2 separate regions of the Homo sapiens genome follow, and region 2 is linked to region 1. The links are contacts of gene promoters, found by promoter capture Hi-C in blood cells and fetal thymus (Javierre and others, 2016). All regions are on one chromosome and are shown on one strand. The core of a region is centred on a gene start or on the middle of the fragment in contact, and the rest is flanking DNA. Distances in the headings are between cores, read along the strand shown. Region 1 holds the start of CSF2RB (colony stimulating factor 2 receptor subunit beta). Region 2 has its middle 12 kb from the start of EIF3D.

Evidence for each region. Contacts are between HindIII fragments. The CHiCAGO score rates a contact against its expected background, and 5 or more counts as called.
Region 2: a fragment that was not itself captured here is called in contact with the fragment with the promoter of CSF2RB in region 1 in 1 of 17 cell types (endothelial precursors); the score reaches 5.9 in endothelial precursors.

Annotation. Positions count from the first base shown.
Region 1 is chr22:36,909,722-36,917,494 of GRCh38, forward strand. CSF2RB (colony stimulating factor 2 receptor subunit beta) reads left to right here and starts at 3,907. Exons shown (of 14, transcript NM_000395.3): 1 at 3,907-3,956. RefSeq lists an enhancer at 1,740-2,441. The HindIII fragment of the contact is 2,744 bases long and covers 1,812-4,555 here.
Region 2 is chr22:36,537,672-36,545,444 of GRCh38, forward strand. It overlaps the pseudogene LOC100500719. Among named protein-coding and RNA genes, the nearest start is that of EIF3D, 12 kb to the left of the region's middle. RefSeq lists a silencer at 6,731-7,025. The HindIII fragment of the contact is 753 bases long and covers 3,553-4,305 here.

The DNA of each region.
Region 1 (7,773 bases), core at 2,657-5,156:
TGATGATTAGTGATATTGAGCATTTTTCATATCTGTTGGCTGCTTGTATGTCTTCTTTGGAGAAGTGTCTGTTCATTTCTTTTGCCCACTTTTTATTGGGGTTATTTTATTTTATTTTATTTTTTGCTTGCTGAATTGCCTAAGTTCTGTACAGATTCTGAATATTAGACCCTTGCTGCATGCAGTGTGCGAATATTTTCTCCCATTCTGTAGGTTGTCTGTTTACTCTGTTGATAGTGTCCTTTGCTGTGCAGAAGCTTTTTAGTTTACTTAGGACCCACTTGTCAATTTTTGTTTATATTGCAATTGCTTTTAAGAACTTAGTCATAAATTTTTCCCCAAGAATGATGTCTAGAGTGGTGCTTCCTAGGTTTTCTTCTAGGATTCTTATAATTTGAGGTCCTACATTTAAACTTTTAATCCATCTTGAGTTAATTTTTGTATATGGTGAAAGGTAAGGGTCCAGTTTCATTCTTTTGTGTATGGCTGGCCAGCTATCGTATCACCATTTATTGAATAGGGAGTGCTTCCCCCATTGCTTATTTCTGTCAGCTTTGTTGAAGATCAGATGGCTGCGGGTATTCAGCTTTATTTCTGTGTTCCATTGGTCTATGTGTCTGTTTTTATACCAGTGCTATGCTGCTTCGATTATTGTAGCCTTAGTATAGTTTTAATTTGTGTAATGTGATGCCTCAGGCTTTGTTCTTTTGGCTCAGGATTGTTTTGGCTATTCGAGCTTTTTTTTGGTTCCATATGAATTTTAGAATAGTTTTTTCTAATTCTGTGAAAAATGACAGTGGTAGTTTGACAGGAATAGCATTGAGTTTGTGGAATGCTTTGGGTGTATGGCCATTGTAATGATACTGATTCTTCCAATCCATGAGCATGGAATGTTTTTCCAATTGTTTGTGTCATCTATGATGTCTTTTACCAGTGCTTTGTGGTTCTCCTTGTAGAGATCTTTTATGACCTTGCTTAGCTGCATTCCTAAGTATTTTATTTGTGTGTGTGTGTGTGTGACTATTGCAAATGGGATTGCATTCTTGATTTGGCTCTCAGCTTGAACTTTATTGGTGCACAGAAATACTACTGATTTGTGCACATTGATTTTGTTTCCAACTTTATAGAAGTTGTTCATCAGTTCCCGGGGACTTTTGGTGGAGTCTTTAGGGTTTTCTAGGTATAAAATCATATCATCAAGGAAGAGAGAAAGTTTGACTTCTTCTTTTCCTATTTGGATGTCTTTTATTTCTTTCTCTTGTTAGATTGCTCTGGCTAGGACTTCTGAATGACAGAATTTTTAAAAGTCACCATTTGGCAATGATCATCATGATAATGTTTAATTAAATTAAGGAACATCATTGCATACTGAAATTATACAAGTGTGGGAGTGGGATGAGAAAGCTTAAAAGTATCTCCCTACCAAATGCTTATAAATTACGATGTGGAAGGGGAAGTAACTTTACAATAGAGAAACTTGATTGGTGTCAAGTTAATCAAATGATCAGAGCGAACGACATTAGTGATGGGACAGATTGACAATGAAAGCTAATAGGACTCACCAAGAATAATCCAGCATCACTTCTGTGCTATTTTGGCCAAAAAAGCATAACCCAGTTCTAATCATCAGACAGAGCCAAATCGAGGGACATTATTCAAAACAACCAACCTGCAGTCTTCGAGATGTCGAGGAAAAAACAAGGCATCTGTTTCAAACTGGAGGCCCGAAAGACATGGCAACTAAGAGCCATGCATTTAGAGAGAATGCAAAGTCCCGGATGGATTTTCTTGTTACAAAACCATTATTGAGAAGCTTAGCGAAACTCAAAGGGGGTTTCCACATGAAGGGTATGTGAGAGTTCTTTGTATCATTCCTTTAACGCTCTGTATTTTGAAATAGTTTCAGAATAAAAATGGAAATGGAAAAAAATGCAATGTTAACATATACGAGTTACTACTTTCAACAAGTTATCTTCCTTTTCATGCCTCAATTTCTTCATCTGTAAGGTGAAGACAGTAACAGCTACATAAAGGTTATTGGGAAGAGATGGAGAAGCCCCCAGCCGAAGGTCTGCTCACAGCGTAAATGCTCAAGCCCTGGTCATTATGAGTACTACGTTCTTGCCAACATTTTCTTGGGTTTCTTAGTCTCTAAAAGATCGTCAATTGCAAGACACGGTATTTTACATACCACTGAAGGAAAAAACAAACAAACAAACGAAAACATTCAATGAATTCCTGACGGTGTGATTCTTCTCGCTTAGAACTTTTAATACTTATTGAGAGAACTCTGTTAGACTCATTCAAATGTAGATTTTTATCCCCTGCTGCTCTATGATGACTTTTAAAAGGAAAGGGTCAGTCAAGTGAATTGGCTGAGGTGTTCCTAAAGCTCCTTCACATTTTGGGTCTGGTGTCCGGAGTGATTTTGACTCAGAGTCTCGGGTTCTTCGTTTCTCCACCAGACAGCATCCTCTGTGCTCCTGAGGGCATCCAGGCCCGCAGCCTCCCAGTCCCACAGAGGACCTCAGCAAAGACAGGCAGAGTGGGGACACCTGGGAGAAAAGAGAGCCCGGGACGTCACTTTAATTCCATCCTCTCCAGCCCTGGAGAAGCCCCTGCAGGGTTTTTCCATGCCAGGCAGGGACCTCACACTGACCGGAGTGCCTGAGAGAACCACACATGCCTTCCTCTACCCTGGGCTTTCTCTGCTAGGGTGAGGCCCTGCCAGCTCTTCCTGGCCAACCCTGCCCTTCCTGGTAGGAGGAAAGCAAAGAACAACAATCAGGCCAGAATTCCAGTGGCTTCGAGGCAGGTTCCTGCCCCTCCATTTCCTCCATTCCCCTCATTCTTGCCCTCCATTCCCCTCATTCCTGCCTGCTGCCCTTTCTCCTGGGAGGCAGCCCCATGTAGGAGAAATATGACTGCGTTTTGTTGTGTCTTGGCACTGTGATTCATCTTGTCTTTATTCAAACTTTTCATATTTGGTTCACCGTGAATAGTTTCTGCATCAGTTGGGATTTTTTTAAACCATATTGCATTAAAATATTACTTACAACAATTACTGAATTTTTAAATGCCTGTTTAAATTTTGAGCACGAGAGACTGCCTCACTCACCTGACCTTAATTCTGCTGGCCCTGCTGTGCTCAGGGAGCCACTCATTCATTCATTCATTCATTCATTCATTCATTCATTCATCTATTCATTTGCACACAGTCAAAGGTGCAATTTCTCCTCTGTACCAGGCCATGTGCTAGGTATTTGGGAGGGAAGTGCAAGCCGGACACAAGCCAGCACTGAAGATAGTGTCAGAAGAAAGACAGCCATGAACACACATGACCATATGACACATGGTGGGGTGGGGCGGCAGGGCAAAGAGGACATCGGGGAAATCAACATGCCACCAGCTACCACTTGTAGGGGGTTCTCCTGTGGCCAGCTCTGAGCTAAGGTCTTCCTGCACAGAATCTCACTGGATTCCCTCAACAGTCCTTCCAGGTTTGTAGATGCTTCTGCAAAAGTAACAGACAGATGGATGTCCCGAGGCTTGGGGAAGTAACACGCAGATGATTTGCACAAGGACACGCTTTAAGAAGCAGTGGACTTGGAAGTCCAACACAGATCTGTCTGGCTCTGGGCTCAAACCAGCTATGGTTATTGCAGCCACTTCCACCTGCATCCCCATCAAGCAGTCAGGGAAGGCTGCATGGAGGAGGCCCTGCGTCAGCTGAGGCTTGAAGGAGGCCTAGGAGTTTATAGGAAGGTAAATTGGAGTAGGAGGCTTTCTGGAAGTAAGAAAAGTCACGTGCACTATTAGCAAAGTAGGCCTGGGCCGGCACTGCTTCCTCTTTCTGCTTCTCTGTTTCCTGATGACATCAACATAAATAGGAAACGTGGGAGGCTCACTCTGCCTAGAGGCTCCAGAAGAAGACTGGTCTCTCCCACCACACAGAGGTATGGCCCGGCGTCCAGGAGCAGGGCTGAGGGGTGGGGTCAGAGCAGGGGGGAATGTGGGGAGTCCAGGATGAAAAAGGACAGGGGGAGCCTGGGGGGCGTCCTGTGGGTAGCTGTGCCCTGGGGACTTGGAGGAGTTAGGGCTTGGCCTCTTAGGATGACCTGAGCCCAGACTCCTAGGGCGGCCAGTGGATGGGGAGGCAGCCAGGGGTGCCAAGCTGCTTGGGTGTTGTAGGAGAGCTCTGGGGAGGACTCAGCCTCGCTAGCGGGATCTGGTTGGTCCTGGTGGGAAGGACGCCTAGTGGGGTGAAGAGAGCTCAGGCCTGGGAGTCAGGCACCTATAGTCTGTCTTCGCTTTGTCACTAAGATGCTGGTGGTAGTGAGAGCACCCCCTGTCCACCCTGGGCTTCTGTCTCCTCATCTGTGGAATGGGGAGCATGGATAGTCCCTGACATCTTGGTTTAGAAAGAGAGAGAACGCATGCTCGTGTGTTTGCCCGTGTGTGCATTTGTGTGTGTGCCTGTGTGTGTATGTGCATGTGCGGATGTCTGGGGATGCAGGAGTGCAGAGAGACTAAGAGGCAGAGGGTGAAACCTGGAAGCTTGCTGCGCTGAGGCCCAGAGCTGGGTGCGGTGTGGCTTGAGAAGCTCACTTTGAACTTGAGAAAGAGCCCAGCACTTTGCCCAGAGACATACCAGGCACTATCCAGCAATCTCTCTCTCTCTCTCTCTCTCTCTCAGTCTCTCTCTCTGTCTGTCTGTCTTTTTAGTTATGACACTCTGCCCTGCTGATTTGGGTTGCTGATTTGGGTTGGGGCCCAGGTGTGTGTGTTCTGTACCCAAGTATGCTGGCTGGGTGGGTGGGTATCTGGGGTGCCTGCTTCAGGGTGTGTGCAGGTGTGTGTACTGGCCCTGAGAATGAAAGGGCAGGTGTTTCACTGGGACCTTGTCAGACAGGTGCTAGCGACAAGCTGCATATGTGCAATTTTTAGTCTTCAAAAACCCTGCTGTTATATTTTTGTACAGCCCAATTCTAATTTTTTTCTATCATCTTTCCTGCTTTGTAATCATTTTATAATGAGTAAACATTTCCTATTAGCTTTTGGTCACTCTTTTTTTCATCCAGCAGTTTTATTTATATTGTTCCAGTATACAGATATACCAACACCACAGGATAATTCATGAGTTGTATAAGGAATGTATTTAATGCTAAACAAGCAACTACACAGAAACCTACCTTCATGAAAATTAGAATAATCTAGAATTATGTAGCACAAGAGACAAAGTCCCCAGCAATTTCTTTTCCCTAGTTCCATAGCTTATTCTTTTCACCACATGTATTCTTCCAGAACATTTTCTAAGCATGATACAAGCATATAGTTTTTCTTTTCCTGTTTGTTTTTTGTTTTGTTTTGTTTTGTTTTTGTGACAGAGTTTTACTCTTGTCGCCCAGGCTGGAATGCAGTGGTGCAATCTTGGCTCACTGCAACCTCTGCCTCCCGGGTTCAGGTGATTCTCCTGCCTCAGCCTCCTGAGTAGCCGGGATTACAGGCATGAGCCACCACACGTGGCTAATTTTTGTATTTTTAGTAGAGACAGGGTTTCACCATATTGGCCAGGCTGGTCTCGAACTCCTGACCTCAGATGATCCGCCTGTCTCAGCCTCCCAAAATGCTGGGATTACAGGCTTGAGCCACTGTGCCAGGATGGTAGTTTTTCTTTTTACAGAAATGGGATTATTTTATTTATATATATATATATATATTCCTAATTTTTTCACTTAATATTGTATTTTGGAATATTTCCAAATTTCTACAATAATACATACAGATTTAACTCGTTAAGTAACCCTAAGAAATATGTGGCATTTATTAGGATGGGTACACCACAATTCATCTAATCTCACGTTGATCGACACCTAGATTGTTTCTAATTTTTCCACATCTGTGAAAGTGTTTCTGTAGCCTAAATTACTAAATGCAGAATTGCTGTGCAGAGGTTGTGCGTTAGAAATTATAATAGGTATTGTCAAATCAGCCTCAAAGTAGCTGAGCTAAGCTGACGTCCCCAAGGTAGTGCATAAAGGGTCCAATTTACCTTTAGAGAAATTATCAATCTTCTAATTTTGTCCAATATTATGTATGGAAATTCTCAATGTCGCGTGATTTTTTTCTTTCCCTGATTATGGGTGAAGTTGTACATTTTCTATATGTGGATTGGCCTTTTGGATTTCATTTATGATGAATGTGGAGAAATTTTTGTTCATCTCCTGTTGAATTCTCTTTTACATCTTAACTTTTGGAGTGACTCATTTATTACGTGTATTAATAATCCATTTATATATGTTGAAAATATATTCTCCCAGGTTATGACTTATCTTTTTCTTTACCATGTTTAAGATGTCTTATGTCATATAAAAATGTTTTCATTGTTAAGTCAAACCTGTCATTACTTTTTACTTTATGGTTTCTGATTTTGGTGTCTTGTAAACCTCTAAGATCACAGGTGTCTTGTAAACCTCTTTTTACTTTATGGTTTCTGGTTTGGTGTCTTGAAACCTCTAAGATTACAGAAAGAGTTTTAATAATTTTACTATTTTGGTTTTGACTTTGAGATTTTTAGCCCACCTAGAATTTAGAGAAGTGAGTAATGTGTAAAGTAACTTTTAAAAATAATTACCATCTAATTGTCTTAACATTGCTAATTATGAGTGTGTGATTTCTCCTCTCTTCAATGATTTGAAGTGCCCCTATTACATCCTAGGCTTCTATACATACTTCGTTATTTTCTTTATTGTTTTCTCTTCCATTTGGCTGTCACTACATTCCTTATTATTTTTCTAACGAATGGAGCAAGTCTCTCATCTCTGGTTTGTTATAATTTAGAATCAGTTTGCCAAGGCCAGGCACAGTGGCTCATGCCTATAATCCCAGCACTTTGGGAGGCTGAGGCAGGCAGATCCCTTGAAGTTGGACGTTCAAGACCAGCCTGGCCAACACGGTGAAACCCCATGTCTACTAAAAATACGAAAAATTAGCCGGGTTTGGTGGTGTGCACCTGTAATCCCAGCTACTTGGGATGCTGAAGTGGGAGAACTGCTTGAACCCAGGAGGCAAAGTTTGCAGTGAGCCGAGATCACGCCACTGCACTCCAGCCTGGGCAACAGAGTGAGACTCCAACTCAAAAATAAAAATAAAAATCAGTTTGCCAAGCCCATTAAATTCCTTTTTGGAATTTTCATGTTGATTGCATTGAATTTAGAGATGATCTGAGGGACATTGACCACTGGAAGTAAAGACAATAGTGAGAGCCTCCTGTGTGAGGCTTTGACAGGAGGACACTAACGTGCCCCCTTGACTCTGTCATCGCCTTTGGTTTCTGGCAGACTTTCAGTGATGCCAACGTTTCCGCCACTGCTTCATTTGCCAGGGTTTGTTTGTTCATTTAACCAGAAATGTCTTGTTTATTATTAAATATTTAGGAGTGTCTGTCAAGATCAGCTTATCCTTTTTTCCCTTTTAATCCGTTCATCTGTTTGTTTGAATCATAAATAGGTTTCTTAAGGGTTCTCCTTCCATGTATGGAGTACCCTCTACTTGGCCATGATGTCTTCTTCTTTTAAAAGTCTTTGTCAGGTTGACCTATGAAATTGTTTTTGTCTGGAGTGAATTTGTATTTTGCTTTTCCCCCCTAGTTTTTATCCCTGCCATTCAATTTCTTCATAAGCTTGGGAATGTTTATCCCTGCCATTCAATTTCTTCATGAGCTTGGGAATGTAATATGTGCATGTTTATTTTGAGTAAGAAGGTGTTTGGTTT
Region 2 (7,773 bases), core at 2,679-5,178, 370 kb before region 1:
CTGTGACTGCCTCATCGGAGAGCAGCACAACATCCCTGGTCCTGCAAATGCGGATCGCGGCGTGCACAGCACCCCGCCTGCGGGACAGAAATGTTTTCTGAACTGAAAAAGGGGGACTACAGGTGCCTGCCAGGCCCTCCATATACATACATCCCCCTATGTCTGTGTCTAGAAGTGAGATACACCGTTATTTCTGTTTTCTGATTGGCCTTTTTAGTTTTTTGAGACAGAGTCTCCCTCTCTTACCCAGGCTGGAGTGCAGTGGCTCGATCTTGGCTCACTGCAACCTCTGCCTCCGGGGTTCAGGCAATTCTCCTGCCTCAGGCTCCGGAGTAGCTGGAATTACAGGCCTGCACCACCACGCCTGGCTAATTTTTGTATTTTTGGTAGAGACGGGGTTTGGCCATGTTGGCTAGGCTGTTCTCGAACTCCTAAACTCATGTTATCCACCCCCCCTCGGCCTCCCAAAGTGCTGGGATTACAGGTGTGAGCCACCGCAACTGGCCCATTGGCCTTTCTTGTTGTACTGTTCTGTCCCTTCCAGGTAAGACAGGTACATTTTCTAGTAGTAAGCTCCTGTGTCTTAAAAAAGAAAATAACATTCATTGAGTGCTTACTTTATGCCAGGCACTGTGCTATGGGCTTTATATAAATAATTTCCTCTCTGAAAAAAACAAAGACAACAAAAAAAATTACTTCTTTGATTCTTTTCTAAAAGTTCCTTGAAATTGCCATGGACCCTCCCATTCGTGCAGGTGGGGAGAAAGAAGCTCAGAGTCGTTGAGTACTTGGCCCAGTGAGTAAATGGTGGAGCCAGGATTTGTGAACAGTTTTGTGGACTCAGAAGCTTCCATCCCTTACAGGGGTGGTGAAGAAGGCCTTTCCGAGAGGCCCGAGAGGCCCCAAGGCAGAACCATCCAGCCAAGCCCACCCCAAATTCCTGTCCCACAGAAACCAAGAGAGATAATAAAAAGACGGTTGCAGGGTTGTCTCGCCCCTCCTCTGTCTCTTGCCTGCTCTCTCTAAGGAATTCAGAGCCTTCCCATCTTGAATACCAGCGGCAGCTCCAGAATTTCCCCGTGGGACAGGCTTACTGAGAGCCGTCTTGTGAAGGGGGTAGCCCTGGACTTGCCTGGGAGCTGTGTCTGTGTAGCAGGTACTCTGCTTTCAGGAGGATGCAGGTTTTGTTGGGGGAGAGTGTTCCAGGGACTGTGAGGGGACTGAGCCTGCTCCTGAAGCCATCTCCTTTTTATTTAATTTTATTTTTTTGAGACAGAGTCTCGCTGTGTTGCCTAGGCTGGAGTGCAGTGGCAAGATCTTGGCTCACTGCAACCTCCATCTCCCGGTTCAAATGATTCTCCTGCCTCAGCCTCCCGAGTAGCTGGGATTACAGGTGCCCGCCACCATGCCTGGCAAATTGTTGTATTTTTAGTAGAGATGAGGTTTCACCATGTTGGTCAGGCTGGTCTTGAACTCCTGACCTCAGGTGATCCACCTGACTTGGCCTTCGAAAGTGCTGGGATTACAGGCATGAGCCACTGCGCCCGAAGCCATCTCTTGGTAAAATACTGCTGAGCATTCAGACAGAACAGAATTAGGAGAAAGAGAAGGAACCAGCATTGATTTCTTCAACACACTGTGCTAGGTACCTCAGGCATTTCGATTATTCTAGGCTGTGAGTGAAGAGTTGTTGCCAGAATCTAAAGTGTGTTCTGAGAACTTGGCCAAATGTAGGGTGACCATATGACTTACCATTCAAATTTGGGACACTTTGGGGGTGACGAAGGGATTACTATCAATAATTATGCCCTGGGATTGTCTCACTTAAACTGGGAGGTATGGTCACCCTAGGCAGAAGGGAAGTAAAATGGTCCTCTGTTACTGATTATCTGTTGCTGTGTAACCAATCACACCAAAATTTAGTGGTTTAAAACAACAACAGTCTTTTTATTATATCTCTTAGTTTCTGTGGGTCAGGAATTGGGAGAGGGCTTGGCTGGGTGGTTCTGACCTGGGGTCTCTCATGCATTATAGTTTGGTGTGGGTGGAGCTTCTGTTTTTCTCTCTCTCCATTTAGCCTCAGGGTCATTCTGTAGTGAGTCCATGTGGGGAGTTCAGAGCAAGTATTCTGGCGAACAAGCTGGAAGCCATGCTGCCTTCTGTGATCTAGCCTCCGAAGTTATACAGCATCTCTCCCATCCCCGTAACTTGTTGGTTCCAAGTGAGTCACAAGCCTGCCTAGAGTCAAGGGCGAGGGAGGACAGAGACTGAATTTCTTGCTGGGTAAGGCACAAAGTTATGGAACAAGTATGTGGAGTGGGAGGTATTGTCGTGGCCATCTTAGGGGTATGAACTCTGCCATGGATGCAGACTGGCCTTTTCTAAGAGTCATCAGTTTGGTTATCTGCAAACATGACTGAAGAGTGTGGGGTACATCAATGCCAGGCAAAGTTTCTGAAGGAGTCTGGCTCAGAGGGGGAGGCCTGGAATACGATCCTAGTTTACCAAGGGGAACCTGGTCAGTTACCTTGCAACTTTGGAGAAAGAGTGAATGGAAGTGTCCCTCAGTAGGGGACATTTAGGAAGGGGATGGTCACAGAGCCAGGGCTGGCATTGTCCAGGGCACAGGTTCTTGGTTGCGCTGGCTCAAGCATCATCCCCATTCCCCGGGTAAGACTGTCCTCCCAAAACAGAGGTGGCTTCAAGCTGCTCTGTGATAAACACTTTTTTTTTTTTTTTTTTTTGAGATGGAGTCTGGCTGTGTCACCCAGGCTGGAGTGCAGTGGTGCAATCTTGGCTCACTGCAACCTCTGCCTCCCAGGTTCAAGTGATTCTTATGCCTCAGCCTCCCTAGTAGCTGGGATTACAGGTGCCTGCCACCATGCCTGGCTAATTTTTGTATTTTTAGTAGAGATGGGGTTTCACCACGTTGGTCAGGCTGGTCTCGAATTCCTGACCTCATGATCCGCCCGCCTCGGCCTCCCAAAGTGCTGGGATTACAGGCGTGAGCCACCGTGCCTGGCCGATAAATGCTTCTTAATGCTGTTGTTTATTCTGACTCCCTGCCACCAAGCAGTGCTGTGACACCGTGGATCCTCATGGAACTTGTGCTGTAGGGAAGCACGTGCTGGTTAGGCTGATGGAAGTGCTCCATTCTGCTGGTGGGGTATTTACTGTGCTCTCCAATAATAAATGGATCTTCTGCTATGCGTCAGCCTTGTAAGTTTGGTCAAAGGGAGTCTGCCACCGCCTTGTGTGCAGAAAGATCCCGGATATCCTGTGGTGGATTCACCTCATTGGGACCGGTCAGTGTGGCCAACCTCTCTTCCAGAGTGGCAACTTGCGTTTCCTTGCTTATCTTTTAAGAAGCACCATAGGAATCATCACCCCATTTTATAGACGAGAACACTGAGGCTCAGAGAGGAGGAATGTCTTGCCCCAGGTGAGCCAGCTGGTCAGGGTGCATTTGGAATGGAAACCCAGGTGTGGCTGAAACCAAAGCTGGCACTCTCCATGCACAATTCCAAAACCCACAAAGCTCTGAAAATCTAAAGCTTTTTCATGAGATTGGGGCAAGCATTTGATGGCAAACCTGATATGAATTGGATGTGAGGTTATTTATAGTCTTTATTTTGTCCCACTTAGCGTGAATATTTATACATTTTGCTGCAGAAAAATTAAAGGGTTTATGGAATATTGCTCCAGAGCTCACTGGCATGTCACCTGATATGCGGTAGATCCACTCGAAAACCTTTCAGGAATCCAAAGAATTCCAAGTTATAAAGCACATTGAGGCCGGATGTGGTGGCTTCAGACCTGTAATCCCAGCACTTTGGGAGCCCAAGGCGGGCAGCTCACCAGAAGTCAGTAGTTTGAGACCAGCCTGGGTGAAACCTCATCTCTACTAAAATACAAAAATTAGCCAGGCGTGGTGGTGGGTCCCTGTAATCCCAGCTACTGGGGGAGGCTGAGGCATGAGAATCGCTTGAACCCAGGAGGTGGAGGTTACAGTGAGCCAAAATCGGGCCACTGCACTCCAGCCTGGCCGACAGAGTGAAACTGTGTCTCAAAATAAATAAAATATAAAATAAAATACATAAATTGATAAAGCACATTGAGCCGCGAGGATTTCAGATAAGAAATTGTGGAGCTGTGCTACCTGTACCAAACTTTTCTGTCTCGGTTAGGCAGAGATCACTACCCCCATTCTGCAGATGAGGAAGACTGAGGGCAAGGAACATGGTGTCCCAGGTAGGACGGCAGCCATTTTATCATCCTGTTGGAGGCTGTGCCAGCAGGAAAGGAAGCTTTGGAGCCACCAGCCCACCCCAGCCTCCCAAGAACCTTGTTGTCTCAGCAAAATTTCAGAACTAGAAAACCTGGAAAGATTAAAGCCCCAAAGAATGCCACAAGTCCCCCAGGAAGAAAGGGAGGCTTTGCTGTGCGTTCCAGTGGTCGACATTCTAAATCATTTTTTATTTCAGCTGCATGTACACTCACCCATCACAGGACCAGTTCTCAGAATAGAGAGGTACCTGTTGAATCATCCACCCTACTTCCTGCCTCGTGTGGGCATGTCTCCAAGTGCTGAGCCATCCGCTTCGCTGCCGTGGCCTGAGATATATCAGGATTTGCAGGCCTGGCGACAGGAGACAAAATAGATTCCCATTTCCTTCAGAACCATTTAGCTAGTTTAGAGAGTGTTTGACTGTTTCAATGGGATGAGCAATAACCAGGCCTCTCCTTGGCTCCTTCTCTCTGCCCCATATGTTTTCTTCTGTTGGAAGCTGGGATTTGGGGTCTTAGGGCCAAAGATAAATACTGATTTTGGCTCGATCTGGCCGCACAGCTGTGGGCTAGTAGGTGCCCCTCTCTGAACCTCAGGCCCCCACTTTCTGCAGCACAGTGTTGTTCTCATCTCTGTTTTTTTTTTTTTTTTTTTTTTTTGAGATGGAGTCTCTCTCTGTTGCCTAGGCTGGAGTGCAGTGGTGCGATTTCAGCTCACCGCAACCTCCATCTCCTGGGTTCAAGCAATTCTCCCCACCTCAGCCTCCCGAGTAGCTGGGATTGCAGGTGCCTGCCACCAGGCCCAGCGGATTTTTGTGTTTTTTAGTAGAGACAGAGTTTCACCATGTTGGCCAGGCTGGTCTCGAACTCCTGACCTCAGGTGATCCGCCCTCCTCAGCCTCCCAAAATGCTGAGATGACAGGCATGAGCCACCGCATCCGGTCTCTCATCTCTTCATACCACATGCCTTGGTTCCCACTGCCCCGGCGGGTGCCTGGAGAGCCTTGTGGCTGGGGCTGAGTGACCGCAAGGTGATATTTAAGGTGGTCTCATGGAGCAGTCTGACATCACTGTAATGCAAGCAGACATCTGGGGAGTCAGACTGACTGAATTTGAATTCCAGCGATTTAAATTTTTACCACTGTTGTGTGACCTTGGGCAAGTTGTGTGACCATTTGAGCCATAGCTTCTTCATCTGTAAAATAGATGGAATCATAGCATGTACCACTTCGGGAGGGAGGGAGAATAGAATTAGGTCAGATTTTATATGTGACATGCTTAAGGCAGTGCCTGGCATGCAAATAAGCCCTTGATACATGCCAGTGGGGTTACTCTGGTTACCAGAAACTTGGAAGTAGGGGCTTTGGCTGGGGCAAGATCTCGCAACATTTAAAAAGCAATCACTGACCGGGCACCGTGGCTCATGTCTGTAATCCCAGCACTTTGGGAGGCCGAGGCAGGTGGATCACGAGGTCAGAAGATCGAGACCATCCTGGCTAACACGGTGAAACCTCGTCTCTACTAAAAATACAAAAAATTAGCCGGGTGTGGTGGTGGGCGCCTGTAGTCCCAGCTACTCGGGAGGCTGAGGCAGGAGAATGGCATGAACCCGGGAGGCGAAGCTTGCAATGAGCCAAGATCATGCCACTGCACTCCAGCCTGGGTGACAGAGAGAGACTCCGTCTCAAAAAAAAAAAAAATAAATAAATAAAAAGCAATCACTGGTCACTCGTGAGGAACCAGGCCCCGAGTTGGTCACTCAGCGTTCAGGTGGAGACCTTGCCATGCTATCAAGTAACCTAGAGTCTATTTTTTTTTTTAAGATGGAGTTTCACTCTGTCGCCCAGGCTGGAGTGCAATGGCACGATCTTGGCTCACTGCAACCTCTGCCTCCCATGTTCAAACGATTCTCCTGCCTCAGCCTCCCGAATAGCTGGGATTACAGGCACCCGCCACCACACCCGGGTAATTTCTGAGTAGAGACTGGGTTTCACCATGTTGGCCAGGCTGGTCTTGAACTCCTGAGCTCAAGTGATCCACCCGCCTTGGCCTCCCAAAGTGCTGGGATTACAGGTGTGAGCCACTGTGCCCAGTCAAGTAACTCAGAGTCTAATGGGGAAAGTAGATGTGGCTAATCCAGGGGCTGCAATACCTATAAAGTCCTTAATCAAATATATTTTGCGTCTATGTTTAAAAAGCAGATTTCACCTAAAAATCTAGTTTTTTGGCTTCTCTTAAGATCTGGCAACACCGGGCTGGCCTTCCTGCGATACGAGAAGAAGCTGGAGCTGAATAGGAGTTGCCCCCTTGGCCAGGGGCTCTCTACTTTGCCTCAGTCCCCACTACTCCCTATTGCACCAGATTCAAACTTCTTCATAGTCATGCATGTTTGCCGCTGGGGCCTGTGGGAGTTTGCTGATAAGTTGCAGTGCAATGCTGTGGGTGCTGTGAGAGCACGATGAGCAATAATAACTCAGCCTTGGGCAGTCAGGAAAAGCTTCCCAAGGGAGGCGAAGTCACAGCTGCTTCTCTATAAAACCTGCAGATGCTGCTGAACACCCTCATCTTTATGGCTCAAGGACATGAATAAAGGACGCAAAGTCAGAGCTCACGAGGAATCTCTGGCATAAAGCGACTGAGGCCCAGTGACTTATCTCGGGTCACACAGCCTGCTGATGGCAGAAGTGGGGCTAGAACTAGGATTACCAACCAGAAACCTTTTTGGACTACTTTCCCTAGAACCAGAGCTGTCAACCAGAAACAGTTCTGGGCCACTCTACCTCCCCTGTCTCTGGATTCCTCGGGAGTTAGGAGGATTTGTACTCTGGAATCTTAGACTTGAGTCCTGTCTCTGCCATTTACTTGCAGTATGACCTCAGATGAGTCACTTCCTTTCCTTGAACCTCAGTTTCCTCATCTGTAAGGTAGAGCTAAGGATTCTGACCTCAAAGGAGTGTTCTGAGGGCCAAACGTTGGGAAAGTGGACAGGAGGCAATCTCAGACATCTCATTAGCTCAAGAGGACTCTAGATACCTGAGGGTCATTATGACTGTTGACAAGTAGCCACCTTCTCCCAAGAGATTTTGTTACCATCTGTTTAACAGTGACCTTGAAGGGGATCCATCCCCCACTTTGCCCTTGCCAGTCCCTTAAAGGAGCACGCATGGCCTTTGGTCAGGCTTGGACCCTGGAAGGGAATGCTTTGGGATTCTCTGACTTTGGGTGTGAACTGGGCCCTGGATGCAGAGCCCAAGGGTTCCCCTCTCCTGGGAGGCTCCAAGGTCACAGCGAGTACTAGGGTAGAGTTGGGAAGGAAGCAGAATTTCCTGGGCAAAAGAAATGTCAATAATTCTTTTGTTTTCTTCAAGGCATCTACCTGCCTATCTGGGGCTCCCCTTAAATCCCATGTCTGTGGCTGGAACTATTGAGACTCTCCTACTTTGAGGAGGTCCCACTGTCCTGAGTTCAAATCCTGACTTTTCTCCT